Regions from separate parts of the Homo sapiens genome. Here all the other regions are linked to region 2. Evidence: promoter capture Hi-C in 16 types of primary human blood cells and fetal thymus (Javierre and others, 2016). All regions are on one chromosome and are shown on one strand. The core of a region is centred on a gene start or on the middle of the fragment in contact, and the rest is flanking DNA. Distances in the headings are between cores, read along the strand shown.

Evidence for each region. The method cuts DNA at HindIII sites, captures the fragments that hold promoters and counts their contacts. A CHiCAGO score of 5 or more calls a contact.
Region 1: a fragment that was not itself captured here is called in contact with the fragment with the promoter of JPH3 in region 2 in 2 of 17 cell types (endothelial precursors and megakaryocytes); the score reaches 7.1 in endothelial precursors.
Region 3: a fragment that was not itself captured here is called in contact with the fragment with the promoter of JPH3 in region 2 in 1 of 17 cell types (endothelial precursors); the score reaches 7.7 in endothelial precursors.

The regions. Positions count from the first base shown.
Region 1 is chr16:87,417,364-87,420,789 of GRCh38, forward strand. It overlaps ZCCHC14 (zinc finger CCHC-type containing 14), which reads right to left. Exons shown (of 13, transcript NM_015144.3): 5 at 3,244-3,353; 6 at 2,420-2,514; 7 at 1,484-1,538; 8 at 97-379. Among named protein-coding and RNA genes, the nearest start is that of MAP1LC3B, 27 kb to the left of the region's middle. The HindIII fragment of the contact is 4,091 bases long and covers 1-3,426 here.
Region 2 is chr16:87,601,017-87,604,244 of GRCh38, forward strand. It overlaps JPH3 (junctophilin 3), which reads left to right and starts at 1,492. Exons shown (of 5, transcript NM_020655.4): 1 at 1,492-2,512. The coding sequence starts at 2,131. It overlaps LOC124903750 (a long non-coding RNA gene), which reads right to left and starts at 1,167. Exons shown (of 2, transcript XR_007065172.1): 1 at 996-1,167; 2 at 1-89. RefSeq lists an enhancer at 31-593. The HindIII fragment of the contact is 10,792 bases long and covers 1-3,228 here.
Region 3 is chr16:87,767,353-87,770,780 of GRCh38, forward strand. The region is part of intron 1 of LOC105371399 (a long non-coding RNA gene); the gene reads left to right. All of the region lies in intron 3 of LOC102724467 (a long non-coding RNA gene), which reads right to left. Among named protein-coding and RNA genes, the nearest start is that of KLHDC4, 3.1 kb to the left of the region's middle. The HindIII fragment of the contact is 483 bases long and covers 1,790-2,272 here.

The DNA of each region.
Region 1 (3,426 bases), core at 272-2,771, 180 kb before region 2:
ATCCACCTTGTGTTGGTTTGGAAACTCAATGCCCCCAGGGAGGTCTTGAGTAAACAATCTAGCAATTCTGTACGGCCAGCCAGAAAACCGACATACCTTCTCCATGGAGAGCTGCTTAAAGACGGGGTAATACTTGTGCAAACGCAGTTTCCTAAGCCAGTCTAGAATCCCATTCTGCTCCTGGGTCTGAGGGGTCTGCAGACTGGAAGGCATGAGGATGGCAGGTGATGTGTCCATCTGGGTCCGGTAGGCCAGGGCTGAGCCCGCGCTGCCCGCATGGGAGCAGTGAGGCAAGGGGGCGGCGGAGCCGGCCGGGTGCTGCCCGTGGTGCTGGGCTCCGCTCTGCGAGGACGGGATACCAGCCACTCCACACACAGGCCTGTGGGACAGGGGCAGGAGGGACACAGAGAGACTGTGGCTTCCACAACCACAGACTCCACCACAGACCTCACTTCCAGGCCTTTCTGTGCCAGCCTCTGCCTCTTGGCCGGCCCTGTTGTCACAGGCCACCCTGAACTGCCAACACTGCTGTGCTATGACTGCCCTCCCTCCCCAACCACCTTTCTGCAGCTAAGATTTCTGTAATGCATGTCTGTGCACACGTGTGCATACAGGCGGCTGTGCATATACACACACATGCCTCTGCCCGTGCTTCGGAGTATGCGTCTACTTGTGTGTACGTATGTGTATTATGTATGTGTACGTCTCTGTCCCCACCAGACTTCTGCTTTAGCTGCCAAGTTTCTGTTACTTGTATTTTTTAAAAACATGCTACTCCGATAGGTATTTCTGTTACTTCTAAGTCACAGAATGACACTGATAAATCATACATCAAAATAGACTATTAAATCTTTAATGTTCAAATACAATTTTTCTAGAAAAGTAAAACGCAGAAGGCTGGAAGGTGTGACCGGCACTCCACTCTGGCCTTGCTCCTTAACTGCAAAGTCACACCTGCTGACTGGGCGCTTACCCTACCCCGACACCAGGAGGATGCCAGTCTACGCCTCGAAACCTCGCGCCCAGACAACATCTCCACGAGACTCCCTATGGGGGTGCGTGTGCACTGATCTGTGACAGCCCACCTCACTGTCAGCAAAGATGGGAGCCTCTGTGTTGCCGGCATACGACTGCAGCTACCCAGGGCCCGTGCGGACAGAGGACGCTCCTCAGGAGCACGACCCTATGCTTCTGGGAGCAGGTTTCTCACAGCCAGATTCTCGGAAATTCTGACTTTCTACGTCTATGATGGGGCCCAGGACCTTGCACTGGGGAGGAGTCCCTGGGAATTCTGATTCCAGTGGCTTAGAGAACTCTTTTTTTGGAAATCGTAAATTCAATCATCTCTACTCAATTCTTCTCAATATCATCCAAGACTCAACTTGAGCATGACTTAATTCTTGGAACAACTTTACACAGAACTCAAAGTAAACATTGTAAAATGCTTATCTGAACTGTGCTGGTTACATAGAAGATTTCTCACCTTCCAGACACGCCCATCACGGTACCTACTTTAGAAAGGGAGGGATTGCCAGGACCTATAAATTTAAAAATAAATACCATAAAAATTTACAGACAATGAAAATATTTGTTTTATTTTATTATTTTTTGAGACGGTGTTTTGCTCTTGTTGCCCAGGCTGGAGAGCAATGGTGCGATCTCGGCTCACTGCAACCTCTGCCTCCCGGGTTCAAGTGATTCTCCTGCCTCAGCCTCCCGAGTAGCTGGGACTACAGGCGACTGCCACCACGCCCGGCTAATTTTATATTTTTATTTTATTTTGGAGATGGAGTCTTGCTCTGTCAACCATGCTGGAGTGCAGTGGGGCAATCTCGGCTCACTGCAACCACCGCCTCCCGGGTTCAAGTGATTCTCCTGCCTCAGCCTACTGAGTAGCTGGGATTACAGGAGCCTGCCACCACGCCCGGCTAATTTTGTATTTTTATTTTATTTTGGAGATGGAGACTTGCTCTGTCAACCATGCTGGAGTGCAGTGGTGCAATCTCGGCTCACTGCAACCACCGCCTCCCGGGTTCAAGTGATTCTTCTGCCTCAGCCTCCCAAGTAGCGGGGACTGCAGGCATGCATCACCACGCCTGGCTAATTTTTTTGTATTTTTAGTAGACACGGGGTTTCACCATATTGGCCGGGCTGGTCTTGAACTCCTGACCTCGTGATCCACCCGCCTCAGCCTCCCAAAGTATTGGGATTATAGGCGTGAGCCACTGCGCCCAGCCTAATTTTGTATTTTTAGTAGAGACAGGGTTTTTCCATGTTGGTCAGGCTGGTCTTGAACTCCCAACCTCAGGTGATCCGCCCGCCTCAGCCTCCCAAAGTGCTGGGATTACAAGCATGAGCCACTGCGCCCAGCTGTTTTTTTTTTTTTTAATTTATATTTAACCATATTTTACAAACTCACTTGGACTCTGAAGCTGCTGTGGGGGAGAGGAAGTGCTGAGAAACCTCCTGACATGGTCATTTTTCAACACGTGAGAAGGTAATGAGGCCAGGTACCTAAAAGGCAAACAAGTGGTCTTATCAACATTAAAATGGCATTCCTGCTGACGAATTGAAAGAAAAAAATTTAACTTTTAATCAAGAGAAATGTGTATTAGAGGAAAAAAGCCAGAAGTGCCAGAGCCTCATATTCTTCCTGCTTTAATTCAACTGAGTTCTTGCCCGACTGCCACTGCTTCTTCAAGCCCTTCCTCTCAATGCTGTATTCATGGCCACCAAGGTTGACGACAGCAGTCATGCCCTGTGACATGAGATCAGTGCCACCCACCAGCCAGAAAGGTGCTTGGACACTGGTCCCCAGGGCCCCGGCAGCAGCACATTTACGGAACTGGTCGGCCATGTTACTTCGTGTGCCACGTGAGCCAAGACACGATCGAGGGTCCAGAGAAACTGTTTAAGAGACGCCAATTTTATCTGGGAATAGTCTCAACCTTGGACTACAGGATGGAAACAGCAGCCCAGGATTATTTCACAGGACTGCCAAAGCCCAAGACGTGGTGGGACCCACCCTGGAATTCCCTTCCTCACACACTCAGAACCACTCTCAGCTTACTGAGGGCTCCCGAATCCTCCAGAACTAATGGAAATCCCTAGAGGCCAAGTAGAGACCCAGGTCCAGGTGACCGCGCATCCTCCCAGAGCTCCTTGGAGGACCACAGCATTGACCACAGGACCAGCCTGTCCTTGCCAGCTGTGGACGCGCCGGGTGCCTGGTAAGGGCCTCACCTCAGGCCTGAGTCCAGATCCACGTGGTTTCGCTCCACATAAAATGCGTCCGGACCAGCTAAGCAAGGAATGAGTTTCTCCAAGTTCTCTTCAGGATAGAGCTGACATAGCTGGAAGAGAGGACAAGGTAGAGGAGGTGTGTCCAGACCCATCCAACACCAGCAGAATTCTGCTACTGCAGGA
Region 2 (3,228 bases), core at 242-2,741:
CCAGGTGTTTGGAAAGCAATTTGGCAGCTTCCAATAAAGTCCAAGACGTAGCTGGTCCAATGATGCCACCGCAGACATTTAGAGAACTTCTGTAGAGGGGCACAGGGAGACAGCGCTAGAAAGCTCAATGAATCACTGTAACTGCACAAAACAAAACAAAGCCGACCGCCCTAAATGTTCCTCATTGACAGTGGGTGTATGAGGAGGTGACTGTCCTCCTGGCTGCTGGTACTCTGGGGAGGGAGCTTTGGTGCCCAAGGCAAGAGACTGAGGTTGAACTCTGGGACTCCCAGGAGGGGCTGATTTTTCTGAGAGCCCCGTGAGCCAAGAGTGGGGACCATCCTGATTCTCTCGGACAGGGGAAGATCTGAGCAGGGCTCCTGGCTGATTGGAGGCTCCGAATCGCACCTCTTCTCCTGTCCTAATCTCAGGCTCCAGGCCTGGCTTGCAGTTTCTGGCTCACCGCGCTGCGGTCACCGGCCCACACTCCCAGGAGCGAGGACCCTGGGCAGCCTCCACACCCCCATCAGCCCACTGCACCGGTCTGCTGCCATTTCCCGCACGCATTTCAGGAGGGCTGGGGACGCCGGCTTCTGCCTGAGGATTTATGGTCCAGGAAATGCATTTTAAATGGATCCCAGGATGCTCGGATCCAAGAATCAGACTCTCTCTTGTGCGTGGGAAGAGGGGCGGAGGGTGAGAGTATGTCTGGAGAGAGACCTAGAAACGCCCGAATGGCGGTCCCACTTTGCTCCCCAAAAGCGCGACCGTTCCCCGAGTGGGGGGGCGCTACCTGTTGGCCAGGGCGCAGGGCGCACGGAATTCGGGTGACTTTGCTCCAAGATACACGCGTGTGTCCCGACTCTCACTCAATTTATAGGGGAGAGGGACTCGCCAAATCCCTGTTTTCTGGGGTAAGCCCCCCTCCCCCCACTCTTGGACCCAAGCTGCCCGGAAGGAAGAAGGAAGCATTGTTTGTCACCGGAGAAAACCACCTGTGGTTTGCAAAGGGCCTCAGTCGAGTCAGGGGCAGGCGGGGCAGATCCGAGCCCGGCGGGAGGGGCGAGGCGCGGGGGCGGGCAGGGGCGAGGGTAGGGGCGCTCAGCTGGCAGGTCCTGCTCTGCAGGCCTCACCGCCCAGCTCCCGGGAGGGGGCCGAGGGCGCCCTGAGTGCTGCGCGCCTTCCCATGACGCAGTTCCTGTGCCTTTAAATCCCACTCCCGGAGGGGGCGGGGGCGCCCCGGCTGGACCCCGGTTTCCAGTCCGGCGGGGGCCCCGGGGAAGCCCAGGGCGGGGAGCGCGGGGCTGGGGGCGCGGAGGGCGGGGCGCCCGGGGTCCCCGCCCGCGCGCCGCGCCCTAGCCTGCTGGGCCGCGCCCCTCTTGGGACCGCCGCGCTCCGGGGGCGGGGGCGGGGGCGGGGGCGGGGGGCGGGGGGCGGGGGGCGGGCGGGGGCGCGCGGGCGGGCGGGGTGCGGGCGCGCGCCGCGCGGCCCGAGCGCGCGAGCCGGGCCCGGAGCGCACGCCGCCGCCGCCACCGCCGCCGCCGCCGCCCGAGCCGCCGCATTGCTGCTGCTGCTGCCGCCGCCGCCCCGCGCCCGGCCCGCGGCCCCCAATATGGTGCAGCCGCCAGCGCCGCCGCCCGTGCCGCCGCCGCCGCCCGCGGGCCCCGCCGCCGCCCTCGGGCGCCCGCAGCGCGGCAGCCGCAGGTGGGGGGCCGCGGCCCGGGCCTGAGCTGCCCCCCGCCCGGCCTCGGCGCGGCGCCCTCCCCGCGGGGCTGCCGGCGAGGGGCCCTCTCGCCGCTGAGGTGGAGCCGCGGGCCCCGCCGCCGCCGCTCCTGCCCCCTCCCTCCCTCCTCCCCTCCCCCTCCCCTCCGGTCCTGTCTCCAGCGGGAGCGCGAGACGCTGGTCAGGCTCCGCGGCGCAGCTCGAAAAGGAATAATCGCCCCCGATTGACTGAAATTCCTCCGGAGCCGGCGCCGCGGCCGCCCGCGCCCGAGACCGCGCTCCGGGGCCGCGTCCTCCTCTCCTCCGGAAAACGCTCGCGACCCAGGGCCGCCGGCGGCCGCGACTCTGCTGTGTCGATCGCCTGAGTCCGTTTTCACCGTTTGCGGGATCTGGAACCGAGTTACATGCATGTCCAGTGGGGGCAGGTTTAATTTTGACGACGGAGGGTCCTACTGTGGAGGCTGGGAGGACGGCAAGGCGCACGGCCATGGCGTCTGCACCGGCCCCAAGGGCCAAGGCGAATACACCGGCTCGTGGAGCCACGGCTTCGAGGTGCTGGGCGTCTACACCTGGCCCAGCGGCAACACGTACCAGGGCACCTGGGCGCAGGGCAAGCGCCACGGCATCGGCCTGGAGAGCAAGGGGAAGTGGGTGTACAAGGGCGAGTGGACGCACGGATTCAAGGGGCGCTACGGGGTGCGGGAGTGCGCGGGCAACGGGGCCAAATACGAAGGGACCTGGAGCAACGGGCTGCAGGACGGCTACGGGACCGAGACCTACTCGGACGGAGGTAGGTGCCGCGGGCCGGGCCGGGCCGGGGCGGGAGGGACGTGCTTCCGATCGCGCCCCTTCTGTGGATCTCTGGGGAAGTTGAGCTGCGTCCTCCGGTTGGGCCGTGGGCACCAGGGGCCTTTCCCGGGCTTCCCTGGAAGCCACGGCGGCTCCTGGCTACAGGTTGCCCCGCTGCCTGGTGGGGACAGTGCCCCTGTGCCAGCTGAAGGGTGTTGGGGGCTTTCCAGGGGCAGAGCCAGGCGGGGCCCAGCAGAGCCTCCGTGCGTCGGACACAGCAGGCCGGAGACCTGCGGGAAGGGCCAGGCTGGGCCCGCGGCCCTGGGGAACCCAGCAAGGGCAGAGGGGGCTGGGAGAAGGGCCCCTCCCCTTGTTGGCTTTGCCCCCCACCCTGGAGGCCGCCCTTCGATCAGGCCCCAGCTTCGCTTCTGGTGTTCCTGCGGCGCCCGAGGGCCTTCCTCAGCCCCGAATCTGCCCAAGCCGAGAGAAAGGGAGTGATGGGGAGCGCTAGGGGCGGGGGATGCCAACCCGAACCAAAACAGCCAGGCAGTACACTTCTAGGTGGTTGGACGCGGACTAGCGCTGTCGAAGCAGGCTGCTGGAGGGAGGAGGGAGGCCCATCTGCTCAGTGAGAGCCCAGGAATCTCGTCTTTCAGTGGCTGCATCGTTTTCACCATTAGTTGAGGGAATCGATCTGTGCCTTCATTCTAAGATGCC
Region 3 (3,428 bases), core at 781-3,280, 170 kb after region 2:
ATCCAAATGCCTGCTAGGAAATTGTACTCTAGGATTTGCCTCAAATTACGTAAGAAATGGCAAAATCATCTGCAGTGCATGGAATGTTATGATTTGAAAGAGCAGAGTAAAAATGCTTATCACTACTTAGAAGATGTCATCTTTGGATGGGTAATCAAGGAATAAGGCAAATTAAGGACAAGGACAAGCCAAAATTTGGCAAAGGGAAAGCATAAATCAGGAAATAATCTAGTTTATTACTTTGTGTGTGAGTCAGCCTTTAAAAGTTCTCTTAGGCCAGGCGTGGTGGTTCATTCCTGTAATCCCAGCACTTTGGGAGGCTGAAGCGGGCTGATCACGAGGTCAGGAGTTCAAGACCAGCCTGGCCAATATGGTGAAACCCTGTCTCCACTAAAAATACAAAAAAAAAAAAAAAAATTAGCCAGGTGTGGTGGCACCCACCTGTAGTCCCAACTATTCAGGAGGCTGAGGCAAAAGAATCATTTGAACCTAGGCGGCAGAGGTTGCAGTGAGCGGAGATTGCACCACTGCACTCCAGCCTGGGCGACAAAGCAAGACTCCATCTCAAAAAAAAAAAAAAAAAAAGATGTTATCTTAGATCCAGCCAGGTGTGATGGCTCACGCCTGTAATCCTAGCACTTTGAGAGGCAGAGGCAGGCAGATCACCTGAGGTCAGGAGTTTGAGACCAGCCTGATCAACATGGTGAAACCCCATCTCCACTAAAAATACAAAATTAGACAGGCATGGTGGTGCGCACCTGTAATCCCAGCTACTCGGGAGGCTGAGTCAGGAGAATGGCTTGAGCCTGGGAGACAGAGGTTGCAGTGAGCCGAGACTGAACCACTGCACTCCAGCCTGGGCAACAGAGCTAGACTCCGTCTCAAAAAAAAAAAAAAAAAGAAGAAGTTAACTCGGCCAGGCGTAGTGGCTCACATCTGTAATCCCAGCACTTTGGGAGGCCAAGGTGGGCAGATCACGAGGTCAGGAGTTCAAAACCAGCCTGGCCAACATGGTGAAACCCCGTCTCTACAAAAATACAAAAAAATTAGCCAGGTGTGGTGGTGTGCACCTTTAATCCCAGCTACTCAGGAGGCTGAGGTAGGAGAATTGCTTGAACCGGGAGGAAAGGTTGCGGTGAGCCCAGATCACGCCATTGCACTCCAGCCTGGGCAGCAAAAGCGAAACTCTGTCTCAAAAACAAAAAAAGTTACCTTAGATCCAATCAATGACTAGTCACTGAGCAGCTGAGGAGGAATGATTTTCCAACCCACTCCAAGCCTTATCCATAAACCTAGCTCTTTAAGAAGAAAAATGAAATTTGGGGAAATAATGAGAAGAAAAGATAGCACTGGTTGAAGACCACCATGGTCTCCAGCACTGCTTGTAGGAAACCTATGTGGTGGTAGAAAAAAAAAACCGGTTAGGAGCTGAGCAGAAAGGAGCTGGAGAATTTCACAGAAACCCAGCCTGGGCATCCAGGCATGTTTATCTTCCATGACGAACTACAAAAGGCTAAATCCTCACTATTGCCCTCGGGAAATAGTTCTGTCCCCTCTAGTGTACTATGACTTTAAGAACATACGTAATCCTTTAATATTTTTCTAAAAATCCTGGGTAAACCTGAGGCAATGCACTTGAAGCCAAAAGGCTCTTCATTCACAGCACATCTGGCTGCAGTACATTACAGTGGTGCCCACTTCAGGCCGGAGACAGGGAGAGCGTATGACCTATTGAAGATTTAGGAGGATCTGGTGGATGCGGGGTTTAATACTTTTATTATCTGAAAGAAGCTTGAAGCTAAATTAGAAGGCTCTTGGATTATAGGTGTCATGGTGATTTACGTGAGACTGAAATTCTCATACTGAGAAAGACGGAATAGAACATCTAAAATGAGATCAGATCCTAAAATAGTCAAAAGATTAAGTACAAGGCTCTATTTTAGTAAAATTCACATTGTTGAAACTTTCATGGATTATCTTTAATCTGTCGCTGACTTTTAGAGTGTATCTTTTGTGTGATCAGGCGCCCTCTGCTGCCTTCAAGTTGAAGTGCAGAAGAGAAAAAAAATCTATTAATAATAGATTAAATTTTAGGAAAATATGCTAACTTCTAATTATCCTCACCACAAGTAATCAATGTGATTGGAAGGTTCTGCCAAGTGTGGTATGGATTACGTGGCTCTTTGCACGTTTCCCAGCAGGAAAGTGGGAATAATGAACTAGTTCACCTATTACACAGGATTCTTGGGAAAATCAAGTGAAACAATAATAAAGCTTAGGAAAGAGGCCAGGCGCGGTGGCTCACGCCTGTAATCCCAGCACTTTGGGAGGCTGAGGCGGGTGGATCACGAGGTCAGGAGATCAAGACCATCCTGGCTAACACGGTGAAACCCCGTCTCTACTAAAAATACAAAAAATTAGCCGGGCGCGGTGGCGGGCGCCTGTAGTCCCAGTACTCGGGAAGCTGAGGCAGGAGAATGGCGTGAACCCGGGAGGCGGAGCTTGCAGTGAGCCAAGATCGCACCATTGCACTCCAGCCTGGGCGACAGAGTGAGACTCCGTCTCAAAAAATAAAAATTAAAAATAAATAAAATAAAGCTTAGGGAAGTAAAAAAGCAAAACACAAAGGCTTTTTTTTTTTTTTTTTGAGACAGAGTCTCACTCTGTCACCCAGGCTGGAGTGCAGTGGCACTATCTCAGCTCACTGCAACCTCCGGCTCCCAAGTTCTTACCTCAGCCTCCCAGGTAGCTGGGATTACAGGCATCTGCCACCACACCCAGCTAATTTTTGTATGTTTTATAGAGACAAGGTTTCACCATGTAGGCCAAGCTGGTCTCAAACTCCTGACCTCACGTGATCCACCCGACTGGGCATCTTAAAGTGCTGGGATTACAGGCGTGAGCCACCATGCTGGCCTTACTGAATTTTTCCCACTTCTTTGAATCCATTCCAGAGAGAGGAATAATAAGATTTCCAACTATAATCAGGGATTTATCTATGTGTTGCTTATATACAATAAACTGTATATATTTCAAGTGTGCACAGGTGGCTGGGGTGAGGCAGGTGGCTGCTGAGGAGCAAGAGGGATCTACAGTTGTCCCCTGCCCTATGAGAAGGGCCACCCACTCAGGAGGGGCCTCAAGGGATGATGAGAAATGAGTATGGAATTTGTCAGCCTTGAAGTTCCAAATTGGAAACCTGGAAACATGTGTCCCGTCTTCTTCATCAAGATTGTCCAATTTTTTTTCTTTTTTTTTTTTTTTTTTTTTGAGACGGAGTCTCACTCTGTCTCCCAGGCTGGAGGGCAGTGGCGCTATCTCGGCTCACTGCAAGCTCCGCCTTCCGGGTTCACGCCATTCTCCTGCCTCAGCCTTCCAAGTAGTTGGGAAAACAGGCGCCCGCCACCATGCCCGGCTAATTTTTTTTT